2 separate regions of the Homo sapiens genome follow, and region 2 is linked to region 1. The links are contacts of gene promoters, found by promoter capture Hi-C in blood cells and fetal thymus (Javierre and others, 2016). All regions are on one chromosome and are shown on one strand. The core of a region is centred on a gene start or on the middle of the fragment in contact, and the rest is flanking DNA. Distances in the headings are between cores, read along the strand shown. Region 1 holds the start of TFF3 (trefoil factor 3). Region 2 has its middle 26 kb from the start of LINC01671.

Region 1 (6,121 bases), core at 116-2,615:
CGCCATAGAGATCATTGCAACGCATGCTGCCTGCTTTTCACTTTTTTCTGCATCTCCCCTTCCTGAATTGTTGAGCATGTCCCACCCTCCCGGGACATCCTTCAGTCCCCAATATTTTCATGTTTCAGGCAAGCCTCTATGTCTGTATGTGCAGCAGAAGTTCACTGCGTTTCATTAACGAACTGAGTATTTCCTTAGGAAAATGGCAATCACGTGCAGTGTCTTACATTCCCTTCTCTTGCTCCCAGTCCGTAATTGCTTATCCTCCTGGCATCCAAACTTCGCTCACACTGGAATCAGCTGCAGAGCTTTAAAAATGACTGACGTTGGCTGGGCATGGTGGCTTACACCTGTAATTCCAGCACTTTGGGAGGCCAAGGCAGGAGGATCACTTGAGGCCAGGAGTTTGAGACCAGCTTGGCCAACATAGCGAAACTCCATCTCTACTAAAAATCCAAAAAATTAGCTGGGCATGGTGGTGCATGCCTGTAATCCCAGCTACTTGAAGCCGAGGCACAAGAATTGCTTGAACCCAGGAGGCGGAGGTTGCAGTGAGCTGAGATTGTGCCACTGCACTCCAGCAGTGAGTGACAAAGCAAGGCTATCTCAAAACAAAACAGCTGAGGCCTGGATCTTGCCTGGAGATGCCCTGATGTAACTGGTGTGCCCCAAGCATTAGGATTTTTAAAGCTCTCCAGGTGATTCTAATGGGCTGCAAGTTCGGGAACCACTGCCTTTGACCCTGCTCAGAAGACACCCAGATAAAAGCCATGCCCTCATTCCTTCAAACTTGGGTTAATGGAGCAGCCACACCCCATGGCAGGGTTGCTATGCAATGGCTAAATGAACCTTGTGCCTGCCGGTATTGACAGTGTTCTGAAGTCAGGGTTTTTCTCCTGCATCTTTCCTTTTTCTTTGTAAATGTGGAACAATGCATAAAGACCTATATTGTAATTTAGAAATCTCCAGCAAAGATGGCTATGGGGTCATAGGGGATGGGCTCAGGCTCAAACCCTGATTTCAACACAGACTGGGCAGGGCTGCCTTGGATAAGTTGTTAACTTTCTCTGAGCCTCGGTTTCCTTGTCTGTGAAATGGGGACAATAAAGACCCACTTCAAAGGGCTAGCGCAGGAAAAAGTGTATATGTGACAGGTGGCCATTATTAAATGAATGCAGAATCCCCCCTTATCCTGGATCCCTTCCCTTCACGCCCACCCTGCCACCGGGGCAGTCAGGGCAGTACTCACACAGGCCCACGTACTCCTCAGCAGAGCTGGAGGACAGCAAGGCCAGGACCAGCCCCAGCATGCAGAGCGCTCTGGCAGCCATGACCACCGTGGGCTCCGGGACGCAGCTCAGGACTCGCTTCATGGTCCAGGAGGCCTCATTTATGCACCGTTGTTTGCACAGCTGCTCTGGATTGTTTGCTTGGGGAAGGCTCTCCCTCCTGGCTGTGGCTGCTCCTGTTCTCTCCTGCATGCCTTTGTCAAGCTCCCAGACAGTTTTTCTCTCCCAAAGGGGAGAGGTCAGTTCAGCCCCCACTGTTTTGGCAGCAAGCGGTAAGGGCGGATTCCAGTTCTGGTTCCGGGTCCTCTACTGGGGAGCGGATGTGTGTCAATTGCCCTCCTAGCCTGGCCTGGTGTAGTGTGCAGGAGCCATGTGGGGTGGCAGGACCAGGGTGTGGTGTCCGTTCCATCTCAGCCTCCCAGCCAGAAGCCCTCAGAACACCCCTGGTCCCATGACAAGAGAGCCCCAGGCTGCTTCATCCCAGATCGGCCTCGGAGACAGGCAGCTCTGAGTGAGTCAGGACCCTGCGGCTCTCTCACAACTCCTGAAACACAGAGATTCCTTGTCTTTCCTTTTTGCTTTCTCCCCTAAAAATTAGTAACTACATTTTAATAAGTGGATGAAATGAATTGATTGAAAATATGTTAGTAAAAACATGGTACACATAATTGATTTTTAAAATCAAATAATACAAAAGAGCCTTTCCTATCCAGAGGCATCTATTGATCTATTGTGAACACTTTTTTAGGTATCCTTTCAGAATTTTTCTCTCTGGATCTAAGCACGTTTTTTTGGTTTGTTTTTGTTTGTTTGTTTGTTTTGTTTTTTTTTTGTTTTTTTTTTGTTTTTTTTTTTTGGAGACAGGGTCTTGCTCTGTTACCCAGGCTGGAGTGCAGTGGCACAATCTCAACTCACTGAGACCCCCGCCCTCGCGGGGCTCAAGTGATCCTCCCACCTCAGCCTCCTAAGTAGCTGGGCCACAGGCATGTGTCCAGCTAATATTTTGTATTTTTTTAGAGACCAGGTGTCGCCATGTTGGCCAGGCTGGTCTCAGACTCCTGGACTCAAGTGATCTGCCTTCCTTGGCCTCCCAAAGTGTCAGGATTACAGGCATGAGCCACTGCACTCGGCCACATTTTTAACACAAACAGGAACTGACTCTCCACCTTTGCCCAGCGTGCTCTTTTAAAAACTAAAGACTACATCTCAGGAATTGTTTTATAACAACATATCAGATGAGACAGCGATGATTCTATCCATTTTCCAGAGGAAGAAACTAAGACTCAACATTTCCGGTGCCTATCAGAGGTTACTCCAGTGTCCCTGGTATAGCTGGTATTTAACCCACTCCCAGGACCCTAAGCCTCCGCCCTCGGCATCCGCAGCATCCCCCAACCCCCCAACCTCCTGCAGTGGACTGGCTGGTAGTGGGCAAGAGACTAATCTCATTCCAGGAAAACGGGCCCCTAGATTTTGTGTTCTCCGTGTTTCTTTTCCAGGGAGGCATTTTGATGACCCCCACTGGCCCTTCCAGGAGCCTCTGTCTGAAGGGTGGACTTGGTTTATCACCCCGAGAAATGGGAGCGCCTGGCTGCTTGGATTTAGCCTGCAGCTGGGGTCCCCGGTGGTGTGTGCAGGGCGGCCTTGAGCCTCCAAGGGTGCATCCACAAACTGCCCTTCCCCGAGTGACCCATGGGAGCTCGATGGCGTACGTGCTGAGCACCAGGATGTGTCCTGCCCTGTGACTCCCAGGCCCCGCCCTTGCGCTCAGCACGCCCTTTGTGGATGGATTTGAGGGCCCCTGGCCTCTGATGTGCCACTCCCGCTGAGGCCAGCGAAGGAGGAAGAAGGAAAGAGCGTTGCCTGCCTTGTTTTCGGGGCACTCACTTTTTCTGGGAGACAGCGGACCCAGGTTCATCAATGGACAGCAGGATTTTCATGTTATTAAAAAGGTCATTGTAGGGGAAATCCCTGGGGGATCTGGTGAGATCTCCCTGGGGGATCTGGTGAGATCTCCCTGCCTTCCCACTGCTCCTAGTACCCAGAGGCCAGGCCAGGTCGTGGTGCAGGGCTGAGTTCCAGGAGGGTGCAAACACCCCAGGAACAGACTGCTGCCCCTCCGGCCCTCATGACCTGCTGGGGAAGGACCCCCGCAAGGAGCTTCTGCAGGTGCTGTGGTCTCCACCTGCTGCACTCAAAATTGCCTGGAGTGGGGAGAATATCAATGCCTGGGCCCCGCCCTGACAGGTGGTTCTGTCGCCTGTGATTCTTCTCTGCGGCCAGCACCGAGAACCCTGCTGGGGTTTGCTTCCGTTTAACTAGTGAATGTTGACTGAGCTCCTACTGCCTACACCCAGGGTTTAGGGCTGGGGAAGGAATAACAAAGGTGACACATTCTTGTCCTTGAAGAGTCCCCCCGCAAAGGGAGACGGGATCATGTCAGAGTTAAGATGGTGAAGCCAAGACTAGGTTCTGTGCTGCCTGACCTTGGGCAAGTCACGTCCCATCTGTACCTCAGTTTCCCTACATGTCACAGGGTGCTCACCCCACAGGACAGCATGAAGTGGTGCTGCACAGCCCAGCCAGGTGCCTGGGACACACACTGACCACCTGCCGGGTGTGCTGGATCAACCATGATGGCAGAGGAGAGGATTCCTGGTCCCGGCTCTGGTAGGAGCAAAGGCTGTGGCAAGGGGGCCAGAGCTGGGTCCTGTCAGGTGGAGACGCACAGGCTTCTCAGAGAAGGGGGATTTGGGCTGCACCTCTGGAGAGGTCAATGGGGAGGCCCGTGTGTGTCCCCTCTCTCTGTTCTAGGAGCCCCCTCCCCAGGAGCCCTGGGCTCTGTACAGGAACAGAGGATGGCATGGGAGAGCCCAACCTGCCTTCCAGAGCCTGCATTCCCACAGCCTTCCCCAGCCACCCTATTCCCCTGGGGGAGTTCCAGTTCCAGAGAAAAAGCAGAGCTGTTGTCAGAGCTGTAGGCCGTGCGGTAGTGGGCATCGGGCCCAACCCAGACAGGTGGCTCCCCTGGGCAACCCAAGACCTGGGGGTGAGCAGGACTGGCTCTAAAGGAGCCTCTCCCTTTCCTCCTTGGGAGCCGCATCCCGCATCCCTGCAGCAGCCTCGTCAGCTGTGTGCGGTGTGGCGGTGTGGGCCGTCCCAGGAGCCCTGCAAATCCCTCCCACCCTGGGCCTTGTGCAGGGGCTCCTGGATGGATCCAAGAAGAAGACAGTCTGCTCCCCCATGCCGGGGCTGCAACCTTTCACCTCCCGGATGCGTGGTCATTGTCACGTGCATATAACAAGCACAAGCTGAGCATGGGTCCCAGGTCAGGCACTCGGCCTGCAGATGTGGGAGCCCCAGAACATCAGGCAGAGCCCGTGCCCTCAGAGCTCACAGGCTGGTGAGGAGGAACAAGCCTTCAAGCATGAATTGTGGTGCAGTATGATTAGAGCTGGCAGAGTGGGGTGAAATCTGACTAGGTCTTGAGGGATGAGTACAAGTTCACCAGATGGGAGGGGTGAAGGTCAGAGGGGCACATTTCATTTTATTTTATCTTATCTTATTTTATTTTATGTTATGTTAAGTTATTTTATTTTATTTTATTTTATTTTGAGACAGGGTTTCTCTCCCATCACCCAGGCTGGAGTACAGTGGTTCAACCTCAGCTCACTACAGCCTACACCTCCCAGGCTTAAACGATCCTCCTCCCTCAGCCTCCCGAGTAGCTGGGATTACAGGTGCATGCCACCACACTTGGCTAATTTTTGTATTTTTAGTAGAGACAGGGTTTCACCATGTTGGCCAAGCTGGTCTCGAACTCCTGACTTCAGGCAACCCATCTCTCTTGGCCTCCCAAAGTGCTAGGATTACAGGTGCACGCCACCATGCCCGGCTAATTTTTGTATTTTTAGTAGAGCTGAGGTTTCACCATGTTGGCCAGGCTGGTCTCAAACTCCTAACCTCAAGTGATTTGCCTGCCTCAGCCTCCCAAAGTGCAGAGGGGCAGGTAAGGCCATAACACTGCCTACTTTGCACTAACTCACTGCCCCACAGAAAACTCAGAGTTGATGTGGCACATGCAGGTTATAGGGTCTGCATCACCGCTCAGTTTTCTGGTATTGTCACTCGATTACTCAAGCAGCAGACAGTCCGAGGGAGGAAGGAAGTAGGAAGTTGTGCTAATCAGCACCCGTGGGTGGCCCAGGGCCGCACACCTCCCAGGAGCACCCTGCTGCCCAGCTGTCTCTCGGTCTGCAGCTGCCATGGGTGCCGCCCCTCACTCTGCACAGAACTTCCTCCTGCCTCCCTGAGAGAGGCTCGAAGACCCTTCCTGAGTCATCACGACCTGAATGTAGGTGCTTTGGGGAGGCAAACGCAGTGACCCATTCAAGGATGCTTCTGTCTTGACACATAGTCCACTGAGGACAAATGGGGGTGGGGACCAGGAGCAGAGCAAATGCCACCACCACGTGTAAAACAGGAAGGTCAGAACGCAGAGCAGCCCAGTGGGCTCGGAAGGGGGCATGGGCTCCAGGGTTCCCTTGTGCAGCTCAAGGAGCACTTGGTGCTGTTTCAGCCACTCGTCTTGAGAAGCAGCCACAGAGCCCTCTAAACCCAGAGCGTCTGTGGGTTTGGGACCGTTGCATCAGCCCCACGTGCAAGGGACAGGAAAGGTTCCCAGAAAGGCATGGACTGACGGCCAGAAATAATGCAGCTGACCGCGGTGGACAGGAGCACCTCACCCGCAGCCCCACCTGCTGGGCCCAGATGGGCCCTTCCCCAGCAGCCAGACCTGCTCTACCAGGAAGCAGAGCCTGAGAGGAGGGTGC
Region 2 (5,530 bases), core at 274-2,773, 270 kb after region 1:
TCCATGCTAAGCCACTGATTCATTAAAGAAACACAGGGAAGGAGCCTATACTCAAAATTAGCATCTCCAGTGGAAACATGGCTTGAGAATTATGCGTCCTTACGGACCAGAGACCAGGCCTCCAAGAATTCTCCCAGGAAACAAATGTCCAGCAGGACCATGGCTGGGCTGTCACGTCCAGAAGCCACCAGGCCACAGCAGGGGCCCCGGCAGGCAGGCCACCGTCGGAAGCCGGCAGGCCACCGTCGGAAGCCACCAGACCACAGCAGGGGCCCCGGCAGGCAGGCCACGGTCCAGAAGCCACCAGGCCACAGCAGGGGCCCCGGCAGACAGGCCACGGTCCAGAAGCCACCAGGCCACAGCAGGGGCCCTGGCAGGCAGGCCACGGTCCGGAAGCCACCAGGCCACAGGAGGGGCCCCGGCAGGCAGGCCACGGTCGGAAGCCACCAGGCCACAGCAGGGGCCCCCGGCAGGCAGGCCATGGTTGGGGCTGCTTTGGCCTCTCTTTCCCTTTTGCACCAGCTTTCAATAAGGCTTTCTTCTTCCACGTCCCCACGACCCCTTGATCGTCCACCTGCTATTGGCAGCGAAGCCTTGAGGCTCTCATGGTGTGTCCCCACATGTCCGCAGACGGGAAGGAGTCACCCCAGCCTCCTGGGGCAGCAGGATGCAGCATATCTGACTCTCATCACACTTTCTGTATCTCAGCAAGTTACCAACATTTCTTTGTATTTACTTCTGGTAAGAACAAAAACCTTAGCTGGGGCCTTGGCTGCCCTTGGAGCTGCTGGGAAAGTTACATGAGTAGAAGGGTTGGGTTAAAGCATGGAAACACCTCTGTCTACACCAGCTCACGATAAGCCTGAAGAGGAGTTTGGAGTCCCTCAGACGCTTTCGGCACCACTTAGTCAGCGGGGGGAATAATAGCTTTCCGGGAAATAGGCCCGAGACGCGGGAAGGGAAGGGAAGGGAACCCCGTGGGAAAGACCTTACTCATTCTGCCCCTTGCAGTCAGCACCTGAGGAGAAGCAGCGGGGAAAAGAAGTGCCAAGCTCGCCGCGTTGACCAGTGTCAGGGCCGAGTAGCCACAGGACAGAACTGAGAAGCGAGTACCAACATCAAGCCTGCCGCGCCATTTATATCCACGCATGCGTTTCCCCTTACCTGCACCGAGCCTCCCGCCCCGTTTACATCCACGCAGGCGTTTCCCCTTACCTGCACCGAGCCTCCATTCCCGTTTATATCCACGCAGGCGTTTCCCCTTACCTGCACCGAGCCTCCCGCCCCGTTTACATCCACGCAGGCGTTTCCCCTTACCTGCACCGAGCCTCCCGCCCCGTTTACATCCACGCAGGCGTTTCCCCTTACCTGCACCGAGCCTCCCGCCCCGTTTACATCCACGCAGGCGTTTCCCCTTACCTGCACCGAGCCTCCCGCCCCGTTTACATCCACGCAGGCGTTTCCCCTTACCTGCACCGAGCCTCCCGCCCCGTTTACATCCACGCAGGCGTTTCCCCTTACCTACACCGAGCCTCCCGCCCCGTTTACATCCACGCAGGCGTTTCCCCTTACCTGCACCGAGCCTCCCGCCCCGTTTACATCCACGCAGGCGTTTCCCCTTACCTGCACCGAGCCTCCCGCCCCGTTTACATCCACGCAGGCGTTTCCCCTTACCTGCACCGAGCCTGCCGCCCCGTTTACATCCACGCAGGCGTTTCCCCTTACCTGCACCGAGCCTGCCGCCCCGTTTACATCCACGCAGGCGTTTCCCCTTACCTGCACCGAGCCTCCCGCCCCGTTTATATCCACGCAGGCGTTTCCCCTTACCTGCACCGAGCCTCCATTCCCGTTTACATCCACGCAGGCGTTTCCCCTTACCTGCACCGAGCCTCCCGCCCCGTTTACATCCACGCAGGCGTTTCCCCTTACCTGCACCGAGCCTGCCGCCCCGTTTACATCCACGCAGGCGTTTCCCCTTACCTGCACCGAGCCTCCCGCCCCGTTTATATCCACGCAGGCGTTTCCCCTTACCTGCACCGAGCCTCCATTCCCGTTTACATCCACGCAGGCGTTTCCCCTTACCTGCACCGAGCCTCCCGCCCCGTTTACATCCACGCAGGCGTTTCCCCTTACCTGCACCGAGCCTCCATTCCCGTTTACATCCACGCAGGCGTTTCCCCTTACCTGCACCGAGCCTCCATTCCCGTTTATATCCATGCAGGCGTTTCCCCTTACCTGCACCGAGCCTCCCGCCCCGTTTACATCCACGCAGGCGTTTCCCCTTACCTGCACCGAGCCTCCCGCCCCGTTTACATCCACGCAGGCGTTTCCCCTTACCTGCACCGAGCCTCCCGCCCGGTTTACATCCACGCAGGCGTTTCCCCTTACCTGCACCGAGCCTCCCGCCCCGTTTACATCCACGCAGGCGTTTCCCCTTACCTGCACCGAGCCTCCCGCCCCGTTTACATCCACGCAGGCGTTTCCCCTTACCTGCACCGAGCCTCCCGCCCCGTTTACATCCACGCAGGCGTTTCCCCTTACCTGCACCGAGCCTCCATTCCCGTTTATATCCACGCAGGCGTTTCCCCTTACCTGCACCGAGCCTGCCGCCCCGTTTACATCCACGCAGGCGTTGCCCCTTACCTGCACCGAGCCTGCCGCCCCGTTTACATCCACGCAGGCGTTTCCCCTTACCTGCACCGAGCCTCCATTCCCGTTTATATCCACGCAGGCGTTTCCCCTTACCTGCACCGAGCCTCCATTCCCGTTTATATCCACGCAGGCGTTTCCCCTTACCTGCACCGAGCCTCCCGCCCCGTTTACATCCACGCAGGCGTTTCCCCTTACCTGCACCGAGCCTCCATTCCCGTTTATATCCACGCAGGCGTTTCCCCTTACCTGCACCGAGCCTCCCGCCCCGTTTACATCCACGCAGGCGTTTCCCCTTACCTGCACCGAGCCTCCATTCCCGTTTATATCCACGCAGGCGTTTCCCCTTACCTGCACCGGGCCTGCCGCCCCGTTTACATCCACGCAGGCGTTTCCCCTTACCTGCACCGAGCCTCCATTCCCGTTTATATCCACGCAGGCGTTTCCCCTTACCTGCACCGAGCCTCCATTCCCGTTTATATCCACGCAGGCGTTTCCCCTTACCTGCACCGAGCCTCCCGCCCCGTTTACATCCACGCAGGCGTTTCCCCTTACCTGCACCGAGCCTCCATTCCCGTTTATATCCACGCAGGCGTTTCCCCTTACCTGCACCGAGCCTCCCGCCCCGTTTACATCCACGCAGGCGTTTCCCCTTACCTGCACCGAGCCTCCATTCCCGTTTATATCCACGCAGGCGTTTCCCCTTACCTGCACCGAGCCTCCCGCCCCGTTTACATCCACGCAGGCGTTTCCCCTTACCTGCACCGAGCCTCCATTCCCGTTTATATCCACGCAGGCGTTTCCCCTTACCTGCACCGAGCCTCCATTCCCGTTTATATCCACGCAGGCGTTTCCCCTTACCTGCACCGAGCCTCCATTCCCGTTTATATCCACGCAGGCGTTTCCCCTTACCTGCACCGAGCCTCCCGCCCCGTTTACATCCACGCAGGCGTTTCCCCTTACCTGCACCGAGCCTCCATTCCCGTTTATATCCACGCAGGCGTTTCCCCTTACCTGCACCGAGCCTCCCGCCCCGTTTACATCCACGCAGGCGTTTCCCCTTACCTGCACCGAGCCTCCATTCCCGTTTATATCCACGCAGGCGTTTCCCCTTACCTGCACCGAGCCTCCCGCCCCGTTTACATCCACGCAGGCGTTTCCCCTTACCTGCACCGAGCCTCCATTCCCGTTTATATCCACGCAGGCGTTTCCCCTTACCTGCACCGAGCCTCCATTCCCGTTTATATCCACGCAGGCGTTTCCCCTTACCTGCACCGAGCCTCCATTCCCGTTTATATCCACGCAGGCGTTTCCCCTTACCTGCACCGAGCCTCCCGCCCCGTTTATATCCACGCAGGCGTTTCCCCTTACCTGCACCGGGCCTGCCGCCCCGTTTACATCCACGCATGCGTTTCCCCTTACCTGCACTGGGCCTGCCACCCTGTTTATATCTATGCCTGCGTTTTCCTCTTGCCTTTTCAATCCAGAGGCCTCACTAGCTTTGGCCTAGTCATCCTTTCTCCTTGTCTTCTCTTCAGGTATTTTATTGATGACTTCCTGATAGCACCAAATGGCTCCCCGAGGGCTCTGAGGCATTCACACGTGTGTGAGAGTGTGCAGGGATTCCCTGGAATTCAGAGGGACTGCCTTAGACTAATTTGACTGCTTTTGGGCAAAATAAGCTTATGGCCTGAAACTTGCCGATTATCCTGGCCCAGCCGTGCCTTGCCAAAGGTGTCTCTGGCCTGGCTAGCGGGTTGGGGCAGCAGCAGCAATCACCAGTGTGACCTGAGGGCGCCGTGTCACAAGCGCAGGGTACTTTGGTGGACACCTGAGAGGCAGGAATCCTGCTCAGGAGGATGAGGCTGCAGGACGCCCCCACAGCCTGTTGTGGTCAGACCCCGAGGATCCAGTGCCAGCTTGTGGTCCCCCTACTCGCTTACTGAGAACCCAGAGCCTGCCCCCAGGGCCCCGAGAGCCTTTACGCACAGTTTAATAACTAGCTGTGACTGCACACCCATGCAAGCGCTCTCCCGGGCAGGAAATCAAATGTCACCAGCACTCCGGAAACAGCCCTTATGAGGAAACGGCATTCTGGCCCCGGGGGTTTTAACTGACTTTACCTGGTGGGCCATGTGGATCCCCTCAGCCGCGCCTCTCCTCTTTACAGCCTTTGCCCACTGTCCTACTGGGCCGTTTGTCTCTTTCTAACTAATTTGTGTCAGTACCTTCTGAGCTCCGTTCATGTCTGTGAGGGTTAGTTTTCTGCGCCCTCTTGACCAGGCCTTAGGACCCAGTTATTCAAGTGAACACTACTTAGGATGTTGTCGTGAAGGCATTTTATAAATGTGCTTAACATCGCCAATCCATCAACTTTAACTAAAGGAGATTTATCCTCCATAACTTGGGTGGGCCTGGTTCAGTCAGTTGAAGGGTTTGAGAGCAAAACTGAGGCTTCCCCGAGGAAGGAGAAATCCCACCCGTGGACTCAGCCTCAGCTCTGGCCTGAGAGTTTCCAGCCTGACACCTGCCCTGGATTTCAGACTTGCCTAGCCAGCCCCCACAGTTACATAAGCCAGTTCCTTGAAGTGAATCTGTGTGTGCACATGTGCATGTGTGTGTGTGTGCATGTGTGTGTCCATGTGTGTGTCCGTGCATGAGTGTGCATGTGTGTATGCATGCATGTGTCCGTGTGTGCATCCATGTGTGCATGCACATGTGCATGTGTGTGCATGTGTGTGCACGTGTGCGTGTGTGTGCGTGTGTGTGCGTGCATGTGTGTGCACGTGTGCGTGTGTGTGCATGCATGTGTGTGCATGTGTGTGTGCGTGTGTGTGCACGTGTGCGTGTGATCTCCAACTGGTTCTGTTCCTCTGGCTGA

What was found. The method cuts DNA at HindIII sites, captures the fragments that hold promoters and counts their contacts. A CHiCAGO score of 5 or more calls a contact.
Region 2: a contact is called between a fragment that was not itself captured here and the fragment with the promoter of TFF3 in region 1, in 1 of 17 cell types (non-activated CD4 T cells). The highest score is 5.2, in non-activated CD4 T cells.

Annotation. Positions count from the first base shown.
Region 1 is chr21:42,314,044-42,320,164 of GRCh38, forward strand. TFF3 (trefoil factor 3) reads right to left here and starts at 1,366. Exons shown (of 3, transcript NM_003226.4): 1 at 1,250-1,366. The coding sequence starts at 1,331. RefSeq lists enhancers at 2,466-3,085, 3,086-3,704, 5,959-6,121. The HindIII fragment of the contact is 10,232 bases long and covers 1-6,121 here.
Region 2 is chr21:42,586,312-42,591,841 of GRCh38, forward strand. No RefSeq gene overlaps it. Among named protein-coding and RNA genes, the nearest start is that of LINC01671, 26 kb to the right of the region's middle. RefSeq lists a silencer at 329-378 and enhancers at 4,451-5,530, 4,942-5,530. The HindIII fragment of the contact is 5,612 bases long and covers 1-4,329 here.